3 separate regions of the Homo sapiens genome follow, and regions 1 and 3 are each linked to region 2. Evidence: promoter capture Hi-C in 16 types of primary human blood cells and fetal thymus (Javierre and others, 2016). All regions are on one chromosome and are shown on one strand. The core of a region is centred on a gene start or on the middle of the fragment in contact, and the rest is flanking DNA. Distances in the headings are between cores, read along the strand shown.

Region 1 (3,453 bases), core at 654-3,153, 56 kb after region 2:
TAAGTTTATAAGGAAGATATTAGCCAAATCCCAAACATGGGAATTCTAAAGAAAAATTACAAATGTCATGGGAGGAAAAGAGTCATGGGGGTGGTAGTGGGGAGGGCAGGTATAATATAGATTCAAAAAGAGTTAAGTGATAAGTAACGTATATTGGACCTGAATTTAAACATAACACTTGTAAAATGATATTGGAGAATATTGAGTAAATTGAGTAATATTGAAGACTTACTGTTAATTTTGTTAGGTGTGATAGTGGTATCATGGTAATGATTTTTTAATATCTGGGTGAAGTAATGTGATTCAGGCAGCAAAATAGAAGGTATGTAGATTTTAATGGTAACTTGGGAAATACAAAAAAAAAGAAGGTATATAGATAAGCAAGAATGACACAGTTTTGATAATTTTTAAAGATAGGTGGGAAGGGTTCGTTAGATTTCTTAGTCTATGTACTTAATTTTTTTTTTAACCTAAAGAGTCTGTCAAACTTTGAGCAAGGCAGTATTTTATTAAACTTTTAAATCTATGTTATATAATTAAATAGTGGTAAATTGTGGTAAATCCTGTTTTTCTGTAGAATATATTGGTTTTCCATTTTGTTGGTGTCCAGTTTGTCTCTAATTGAGTACAATTTTTTTTTTTTTTTTAATTCCCAGTGCTTTGCCAAGTATATTAGAAGTGGCCTTGGGTCTTCAGTAAATTGCACATTTATGTGGACACATTCACACATTAGAATTGTAGATGAGCTCAAATATTAAAAGTTCAGAATGAATATTTGGGCATTTAAAACATTACAGTTTGTATTTTAAGAAGATAAGAATATAATTTATGGATGTGACCTGTGGAAATTAGTCCTCTTATTTTTCTGTTTTGTAGCTTTTTCTGTTTTGTTGGCATATTGATCTCTTGTTTATGTTTTCTTGACACTTTATTTGATTTTCCTTTTATAGGCCAGTACTTAAAAACTATTTTAGCAATAATAAGGGAAAAATGACAAAATTGATGCTACAACATTTTAAGATACTAGTGTGTTCTGTAATCAGTACATTTAAAACTTGGGAATCAAAGAATGTGGTCAGGCCAGGCATGGTGGATGATATCTGTAATCCCAGCACTTTGAGAGGCTGAGACTGACAGATCACTTGAGGTCAGGAGTTCAAGACCAGCCTGGCCAACATGGCGAAACCCAGTCTCTACTGAAAATACAAAAAATTAGCCTCGCGTGGTGGCACACAACTGTAGTCCCAGCTACTCTGGAGGCTGAGGCAGGAGAATCACTTGAACCTGGGAGGCGGAGGTTGCAGTGAGCTGAGATTGCACCACTGTACTCCAGCCTGGGAAACAGAGCAAGACTCAGTCTCAAAAAAAAAAAAAAAAAAGAATGTGGTCAAAATATCTTTAAGTTTCCATCCAATTATATATATGCTGTATAAAAGTACTTTAATTATCTTTCAGGTTGGCAAATAAACAAGATAAAGAAGGAGCTTTAGGAGAAGCTGATGTCATTGAATGTCTATCTCTGGAAAAATTGGTCAATGAGCACAAGTGCCTGTGTCAGATAGTAAGGTTTTTTTTTTTTTTTTAATTTTAATTTTTTGTCCTTTCAAATAGGTTCAGTATAACTTGGTTTTTATAAAAGTGATAGCAATTAAAAGGCAATGTTTTCAAAGAATTTTTTGTAACCTATGAAATCACATTCCCATTTTTCTGTTGATATAACTTAATACCATAATATTTGTTGTCTATTTCATTGTTATTTCCATGAACTATCTTTCCATGATTTCAAGGAGCTTCACATTTGCGTTTTAACATAGCCAACACATCATGGCATGAAATTTGTAAAATGGGAAAGAAAAGTGTAAATACAAAATTTAAACATATGAGAGATTCATAATGAATTTTGAAAAATTATTTTGCTGGGCATGGTAGCTCATGCCTGTAATCCCAGCACTTTGGGAGGTTGAAGGGGGCAGATTGCTTGAGCCCAGGAGTTTGAGACCAACCTGGGCAACATAGTGAGACCCTAGCTCTACAAAAAATACAAAAACTAGCTGGGTGTGGTAGTGTGTTCCTGTAGTCCCAGCTGCTTGAGGGGGCTGAGGTGGGAAGACCACTGGACCCTGGGAGGCTGAGGCTGCAGTGAGTTCTAATTCAGCCACTGCACTCCAGCCTGGCCAACAGAATGAGACACTGCCTCTAAAAAACAAAAAAAGAAAAGATAAATCATATCAGGAGAGATGTCATACAGTCTTAAGGAAGATGAACAGTGGATTTAATAATTTATTTTGGTTTCAAAAAACATTAGGCTGTCAATCTTATGGATGTTTACTGCTGTATATTGTAGTATAAGGAATTAAAACTTCCTGGCATTTTTAATCAATAGAGATGTCTTTTTATGGTAGTTAAATTTTTTCTTCTAATATTATAAGTGGCACTGTCACCCTCTTCTTTATAATATCTTACATAGTGTACAGATGTTATCTGTAAAATATTTTAAGTTCTATATACTGATGTTAATCATTGCAGTGCTATGTTTTGGAAGTTAAATAAGCAGATGCTTCATATTATTAACTTAAATGGCTTAATTTTGATTTGCCATTAATTATACTTAATGGTTTATGAATAGATTTGTGTGGAGACCTTTTAATCTTTTAGTCAAATAAATTTCTGTTTTAGGAACCATGTTCAGCAATCTCGGGGTATGGAAAGAAAATTGACAAGTCCATTAAAAAAGGCCTTTATTGGCTGCTACATGTTATTGCAAGAGACTTTGATGCCTTAAATGAACGCATCCAAAAAGAGACAACAGAGCAGCGTGCTCTTGAGGAACAAGAGAAACAAGAAAGAGCTGAACGAGTGCGAAAATTACGAGAAGAAAGGTAAGTAGATTAATTTTGTACCACAGTGCATTTGAAGGATCAAAAACATAACAATTTTATGAATCAGTTGTTAGTTTTATCTGTTCAGTTTCTTCTTTCTGTGTGAAGGAAGACACTAGGTAAATTTTGTATTTCTGTGGATCTTTTTCTGTACAAGTTTGGGTGGTAGATTCCTAATTTTTCTGGTGGTTGTATAATAGTTAAATTTACTCCTTACGTAGCCATTGTCTTCCAGAGTTTTAAATTTTTGTCTCTGATTGCTTGTGGGTACCTTAGTGCAGTGGTTCTCAATGCACAGGGTAGTTTTTAACATTTGGCAGTGTCTGGAGACATTTTTAGTTTTCACCACTAGGGGAAGGAGTGGAGTACTACTTGGAATCTATTGGGTAGAGGCCAGGGATGCAGCTAAACATCCTATGACACACAGGACAGTCTCCCACAACAAAGAATTATCAGGCTTAATATGTCAATAACGTTGAGACTGAGGAACCTTTTTAGTTTCAGCAAGGATAGAAGGTGAGCTGCTAGAGAATCATTCAACTCAAGCAAAATCTGATCCATAGTTGCCTTCCAT
Region 2 (3,474 bases), core at 822-3,321:
TTAGGTCATATCCTTTTTGACCAATGAGAGTTCTTCAGGGTTTTTCATTCTTCATCGAACCCAAGTATAAAAATGGGTAGTCTTCCCTGCATCTTTGCATCTCCATTTGCAAGGTTCCCATGTCACATAAAACTTGGATTAAATAAATTTGTTATGCTTTTCTCTTGCTATTCTTTTTGTTATATGAGTGTTGGCTGTGACTGTTATGATGAGAAGAAAAGGTATCACCCCCTTTGTTCCCCATAAGGCACAGTATTTTGGAGATAGCAAGCTGTATGAGATGTATATAAATTTGAATTAAAATTACATGAGGCTGGGTGCCATGGCTCATGTCTATAATCCCAGCACTTTTGGGAGGCCGAGGCAGGCGGATCATTTGAGGCCAGGAGTTTGAGACCAGCCTGGGCAACATGATGAAACCCTGTCTCTACAAAAAATACAAAAATCAGCTGGGCGTGATGGTGCACGTCTCTAGTCCCAGCTACTTGGGAGACTGAGGAAGGAGGATCACTTGACCCCAGGAAGCGGAGGTTGCAGTGAATCGAGATCATGCCACTGTACTCCAACCTGGGTGATAGAGGGAGACTCTGTCTCAAACAAAACAAAACAAAACCAAAAAAAGTTACATGATTTAGTAAAGGACAGAGACTAATTTAAAACCTATATGTATCTTAGTCTCAAATCATTATATTCCCCGCGAATACACTGGGATTCTCAGTGCCTTCTATCCTTTCATCAGGATTTGAAAATATTTATTTAAGTAGAAAATGAATGGACACACAGATCCCTACATATTGTGCATAATTTTTTCCCTACAGGAATGTCCTTGTCATTTCTTTTTCTCCAAAGTATATAAAAGAAATGCAAATATTACATACCTCTTTAAAAAATAAACTATTACAAAACAGTCAAGAGATAACAATCTTCATCTTGCAGATACCAAATAGCCAGCAATTTATGTACCTAAAAATCCTGAAACAAACATACATCAAAATGGTTATTTATTTATTTTTGAGACGGAGTCTTGCTCTGTTGCCCAGACTGGAGTGCAGTGGCGCGATCTCGGCTCACTGCAACCTCCGCCTCCCGGGTTCAAGCAATTCCCCTGCCTCAGTCTCCAGCGTAGCTGGGACTACAGGCGCGTGCCACCACACCCGTTTTTGTTTTTTTTTGTTTTTTTTTTTTTGTATTTTTACTAGAGACGGGGTTTCACCATGTTAGCCAGGATGGTCTAGATCACCTGGCCTCGTGATCCGCCCGCCTCGGCCTCACAAAGTGCTGGGATTACAGGCGTGAGCCACCGCGCCCGGCCCCAAATGGTTATCTTTGAGAGCTCCTGTGAGATCTCATTTTCTTCATCTTGTTTCTTTTTAGTATTTTTCACATTTTCTACAAGAAATGCATTTTTCTTTTGTAATCACAATCCCCCCTACAACAAATATCATACAATTCCGTTTCACATATGTAACAGTAATAAACGTTTTAGAGATTAAGGCTTCACTCTCATCTGAACTACTGAGAAAATTTAGCAAGCGAATTTCCCCCTTGTCTTTAACTTACAAGAATTGCCCCAGTGTATTGTTCCTGTAGTCATGCTGCCTAAGTCGGCCAGAATTCTAGAGGGTCCCCATCCCTGAGCAAAAAACAAACAAACAAAAAACAAGAAAAAAGAAAGAAAGAAAAAGAAAAACCCATGCACAAGACCTGAGATCTCTGAATCTCAGTTGGGGACACTGGAGAAAGGAAAGGAACAGCACCGTGGATTGGCAACACATTTTATGTAGGTATAAAGATAGGCCTTGCTGGAGATTTGTCCCGGATCCTCCAGCTTATCTCCGGACGCTCCGGTTGCCTAGTTACGAGAACGAGCTACCTCGAGCTCCGCCTCCTTCTTATAGAGTACTCCCCTTTCTCTTTTCCTAGTCTCGCGCAGGGGCGGGTAGCCAGGACTCTTCAGCCACTCAGAGGCCTCTACCTCAGGACCTCAACCGATGATTGGGCGAGCGCAGTACGGGCGTTGCCTGGGGAACGCCTTCCGCGCCTCGAAGTAACGTCAGCACGTCGACGCGGGGCTTTTCTTTAGCCGGGTCCCGCTAACTCGGCTACGGTGTATCTGCGTCTTTGGTCAGGTTGTTCCTTGGCTAAGAGGGCAGTCGTCGCGGACCCACGCGGTTAGCAAGGCTTAGTGCTCGGGCCGGCCGCCTTCACTTCCCTCCCGGCTTTTCCTCCCGACTTATCCACTTTAGGGGCGTCTCGGAGTGCCGGAGGCCCCCGGGGAAGAGCGGGGTGCCGGTGTCCGCTCCGGGCTCGGATGGGAAGTGGTGGGAGGAGCGACCCGGGATGTTCAGTCTGATGGCCAGTTGCTGCGGCTGGTTCAAGCGGTGGCGGGAGCCTGTCAGGTAGGCTGGAGCCAGCTGTCCTGGCCGTCCTAGGGGTTGGAGATGGCTGCGCCCCAGGGGCGAGGCGCCGCCTTTTCCCCGCGCCTGGACGAGTCTATCCCAGGCCGCAAGGGATGCTTTCATTCCCAGGGTGTCCCGGGAGGGAGAGATTGGAGGATGTAGCCTTGTTGTCTGGTCGACTTTCTGTTGCGATTGACAATGCTTACCGTTGTTATATTTTAAATAGGTTTGAATTTGTTAAAAAGTGTGTGTGTGTGTGTGTGTGTGTGTGTGTGTGTGGAATTGAAAACTATCCATTGTGTGTTTTTCCTCTGAAGCTTTTGTAATGGAAATTCTTTTAAAAAGAGGGGGACATGGAATATAGTTTTCATAATATCCGCACATTCCATTCCAAGTCACACCTCCACACAGTTGTATTTGAGGACGTGGGCTTGAAATCTGGCTCCACTACTTAATAATTACATGACTCAACCATTTTGGCCCCACCTTTCTTAAATATTAAATGAGAGTGATAATACTCTGCTTTAGAAATATTGTATTCAATGAGAACAAGTGATAGTGTTTTCTTAACTGTAATGTAGCTTCCAATTTTTATACGGTCTCTAGTAAAACCTTTTAATTGAAAGGGTCCACTTTTTAACATTTCATTTTGAAATGCTGGAAGTATTAATAATTAGTACCTGTTACTTGATATTCATTCATTCAAAAAATATTTATTAAGACAATACCTTGTGCCAGGCACTGTCTTAGGAAATAATCAGTGAAATTGATGCTTTTGAAACTGAGGCCTAACCTATAAAGAGATCTTGTGTTTGTTACACAAATAATGTTGACTTCACATAGTTCTAGTCTGGAATTGGGCCAAGGGTAAGATAAAGCAAAGTTGTTTTTTTTTTTAAATTGTTAACATTTTAAGTATATTTGCCATGAGAATGAACTATCCTTTAAAGAATGAATCTGAAAAGCTACACTTACACATTATAACAGAAAATACATGTCTAGATTGGAAAAAAAGTAACTTTAAATGAAACTAGAGATTCTTCCCCATTATTAGCTCCTAACTGAATTTGAATGT
Region 3 (3,696 bases), core at 564-3,063, 36 kb after region 2:
TAAGGCACAAGAATCGCTTGAAACTGGGAGGTGGAGATTGCAGTGAGCCAGGATCATGCCACTGCACTCCAGCCTGGGTGACAGAGTGAAACTCTGTCTCAAAAGAGAAAAGATTTGATAAAGGTTCTAGTTTGGTTTAGCTTTATTGTAGCATGATTCTTAACTATTAAAATATTCTCCAGTCAGCCAAATGGATTGCCTAGGTAGTCATTACTACTTAACACATGAGAGAAATGTATAATATAGAGCTTGATACCTGACCAGAAGACTAAGATTATGCATCTCATTTTCAATAGTTAATTTGTGAGTTGATGGTAACTGTATTTTTTTGTACTTTAATTAAATAAAAGTGTGTTTTATGTAACTGGCTACAGAAGTTTCTGAAATTTTAGTGGGTTAGGGTTAAAGGGGAAAATTACAACTTAACAGTGATGAAAGGTATGTGAGTGGATCCATGAGATGGAGAAAAACAATACAAGACACTGAAATATAAGCTATCTTTTACCGTAAAGCTGGAAAAAGTTTTAAAATAGCTTCTTTATTTTGAGCTACAGCATGGACAGCACCAACAACACAGTACTCTGCAAGGATTTCTTTTTTTGTATTTTACAGCTAGTCCAAATTTCTCTTTAGTATTGTTAACATACTCTTTTGTACTATTCACTGTCATTTCAATATTGTTGATGCTCTCTCCTTGTTCCTCTACTAAAAGAGATATCTGAATGAAAAGATCCCTTAAATCCTTTATTTGGTTCTCCAAATTAACAAGTTCCTTGTGTCTCTGTTCAATCTCTGAAAGTTGTGCTTTAGTGATATTGATTTCTGTAAGTAAGCTTTCATTAAAAACTTCCCATTTTCCTTGATGAAGCATATCATTTACATCTTCTTCAGACATCTCTTTTCCAGCAACTTCAAGCTGACGTAAAATAAATGTCTTGCACTTCTCTTGCTTTGCTGCTATTGTGTCATTGTATATAAACATGATTTGCTGAAAATGGCGGAACATTGCAGCATGCTGAGATTTAAGTATCCTTGTGACCACTGAAGATGGACCATTTTCAACCTCTGACTTTTTAACTTCTTTAACTAAATCATTCAAACTTCTGTTGATGTATTCTGCCTGAATTTTTATCTCCTTTGTAATGGTAGACTCTCTCTTAAGTAGACTAAACCTTCTCATTGAAGCCACCAGACTTTTCTGTTGCTGCCCAAATTTTTGAACATTATCTGCCAAATTGTTAATACTTTCCTGTAGTTTTTGGATTTCATGTAGGTGTCTCTCAGCTACAGGCTCTCTTTCATAAATAACAGCTTGCTGTAGAAACACCCCTTGTTCCTCTGTTTCTGTAGTTGATACATGACTGTCTCTAGAGAGTTCAATTTCCTTTGTTCTCTGCTTTAGTTCTTGAAGTCGGTCTTTCATCTTCCCTTTCCTCCTAAGAAGCAAAAATTTTTGTGTTGAACAAGTAGAAATTTGGTATTTTTCCCCAGTAGCAGTTGACTTCACATAACTGTCTATATCCCAGCAAAAGTTCTCCTAGTTTTCTCAAATGAGGTTAAAAAGTTAGAAAAAACCAATGAGTTTCCTCATAAAAACCATTTAAATAGGGAAAGAAATATAAAATAATTTGTAAGTTACTTTGCATGTGAGTGCTATTTAGTTGTGTGCAATAGCTGAGAAAGCAGTGATGCAGACACAGTTGGTCAAAAATATTTGTCACATGATAGTTTTTTTTTGTAATAAAGAATGCTTTTGACTATACCTTCAACCTATAGGATTAGTCTTCAGATGCCAAAAATGCCCTTGTTACTAAAGATACTGTTTCCGGTTAATTTGGCCAATGTAATATTAAAAAATACTCATTTTGCTAAATATGCATCATTCAGTTAAAACCATTGTAGTGACAGTACAGATTTTATATGAGAACGTTAAGCTATATGGATAATATTGAATTTATTTTAAATTTTCCGAAGCCTCTGAATTAACGTATTACTTGGCATAATGTTTTTTCTAGCTGTTGCATATATGTGAAAACATTGGTTTGATTATGCTGATTTCTCATTCTTAGCATTCTTTTGCAAAGATATCCAGACTGTCTTAGAACAAAATTTATATCAATTTGTGTTAGGTGATACTTTTATAAACATGAGAATATATTTATATACAATCTTATTTTAGGAGTAATAATGATATTGACACTTATCACATGCTGTGTTGGTAGTTATCTGTAAGAATCAAATTGATGTACATAATTTATATTTAATGATATAGATATATATGAAATGACATACATACATATAAAATGAAGGGAATAAAAAGCAGTAAAATGCTATTATCACAGAGCAACTTGATTTTAGAAATGTCTTTCAAGACATTTTTGAAGATAAGAAGAGGCTGTTAGGGAGTACAGATAGCTCATTGGACCACATATAATATTAATATCAACCAGAAAAAAAAGGTCTCTGAATGTGATGCTGTTATGCTGTAGGACTCAGTGTTTGATATGTTTATGGAAATATTTCTATTAATCTGGATGTTGTCATAGGAGGCATACTTAACAAATGTGTAGATGGTGTAAAATTTGGAGGAATCTTTAGTATGTTGAAGTACAGGGTAGGGATTCAAATATTAAAATAGTGTGGAACTTTATACTAAAAATAACAAAAATATATTTAACAGGAATAGATTTAAAATATTTCATCTAGCTATAAGAAAAATATTTTCGTATCTACAGAGTAGAAGACCCTTGGGTTCACAATAGTGTCTATGAAAGTATTGGAGATTTTAATTAATTAAGCTTTCTTTTTTTTTTTTTTGGAGATGGAGTCTTGCTCTGATGCCCCGGCTGGCATGCAGTGGTGCGACCTCAGCTCACTGCAACTTCTGCCTCCCGGGTTTAAGTGATTCTCCTGCCTCAGCCTCCTGAGTAGCTGGGATTACAGGTGCCTGCCACCATGCCCGGCTAATTTTTGTATTTTTGGTAGAGACAGGGTTTCACCATATTGGCCAGGCTGGTCTCAAACTCCTGACCTCGTGATCCGCCCACCTTGGCCTCCCAAAGTGCTGGGATTACAGGTGTGAGCCACCGCTCCCAGCCTAATTAAGCTTTCTGTCAGAACCATCAGAATAGTCACTATGCTTTTATAAATAATAGTCTGATGTATGGATAGACTAAACTCTGCCAACTCTATGCTATTCAGAGCAAATTGCAAGGGTAAGGGGAACTCAATAAACTTCTGAGCATATTTTGAGATGGAAGTTCTTAAGTTAGGAATTACCAGACTAGCATGGAAAGGATGAGATTGGAAAACCATACCAAATGGAGACTCATTGAAATAAATGGTAATATTTGTCCTGTAAAAGAGAAGATGTAGGGTGTGTATACAGCTGTCTTCTAAACAAAGGTCTGTGTATGCAAGTGAGATTAGACTTACTTGGCATAACTCCAAAGGGCAGTGGGTGGAAATTACATGGAAAGAGGTTTGATTCAATATAAAGAAGACTTTTCAAACAAATATTGCTTTCCCAAGATGAAATGAGCTGCTTCATGAGGTGCTGAGTTTGCCATCACTGGACATTTTCAAGATGTTCTGGAATGATGACTCCAGGCAGGCATGTTACAGAAATGATGCCTGTTTTGGGTAAAAGGTTAAACCAATGTCCTGGTAATATTCCTTTGGTTTTAAAGGACTGGT

Evidence for each region. The method cuts DNA at HindIII sites, captures the fragments that hold promoters and counts their contacts. A CHiCAGO score of 5 or more calls a contact.
Region 1: a contact is called between a fragment that was not itself captured here and the fragment with the promoter of ARL13B in region 2, in 7 of 17 cell types (monocytes, non-activated CD4 T cells, total B cells and 4 more). The highest score is 8.5, in monocytes.
Region 3: a fragment that was not itself captured here is called in contact with the fragment with the promoter of ARL13B in region 2 in 2 of 17 cell types (fetal thymus and activated CD4 T cells); the score reaches 5.9 in fetal thymus.

Annotation. Positions count from the first base shown.
Region 1 is chr3:94,033,876-94,037,328 of GRCh38, forward strand. It overlaps ARL13B (ARF like GTPase 13B), which reads left to right. Exons shown (of 10, transcript NM_001174150.2): 4 at 1,456-1,561; 5 at 2,677-2,879. Among named protein-coding and RNA genes, the nearest start is that of STX19, 7.0 kb to the left of the region's middle. The HindIII fragment of the contact is 4,506 bases long and covers 1-3,453 here.
Region 2 is chr3:93,978,084-93,981,557 of GRCh38, forward strand. It overlaps ARL13B (ARF like GTPase 13B), which reads left to right and starts at 2,072. Exons shown (of 10, transcript NM_001174150.2): 1 at 2,072-2,399. The coding sequence starts at 2,341. RefSeq lists enhancers at 1,680-1,839, 2,110-2,239. The HindIII fragment of the contact is 5,745 bases long and covers 1-2,714 here.
Region 3 is chr3:94,013,847-94,017,542 of GRCh38, forward strand. The region is part of intron 3 of ARL13B (ARF like GTPase 13B); the gene reads left to right. It overlaps STX19 (syntaxin 19), which reads right to left. Exons shown (of 2, transcript NM_001001850.3): 2 at 519-1,436. The coding sequence starts at 1,423. The coding sequence ends at 539. Among named protein-coding and RNA genes, the nearest start is that of STX19, 13 kb to the right of the region's middle. The HindIII fragment of the contact is 1,965 bases long and covers 832-2,796 here.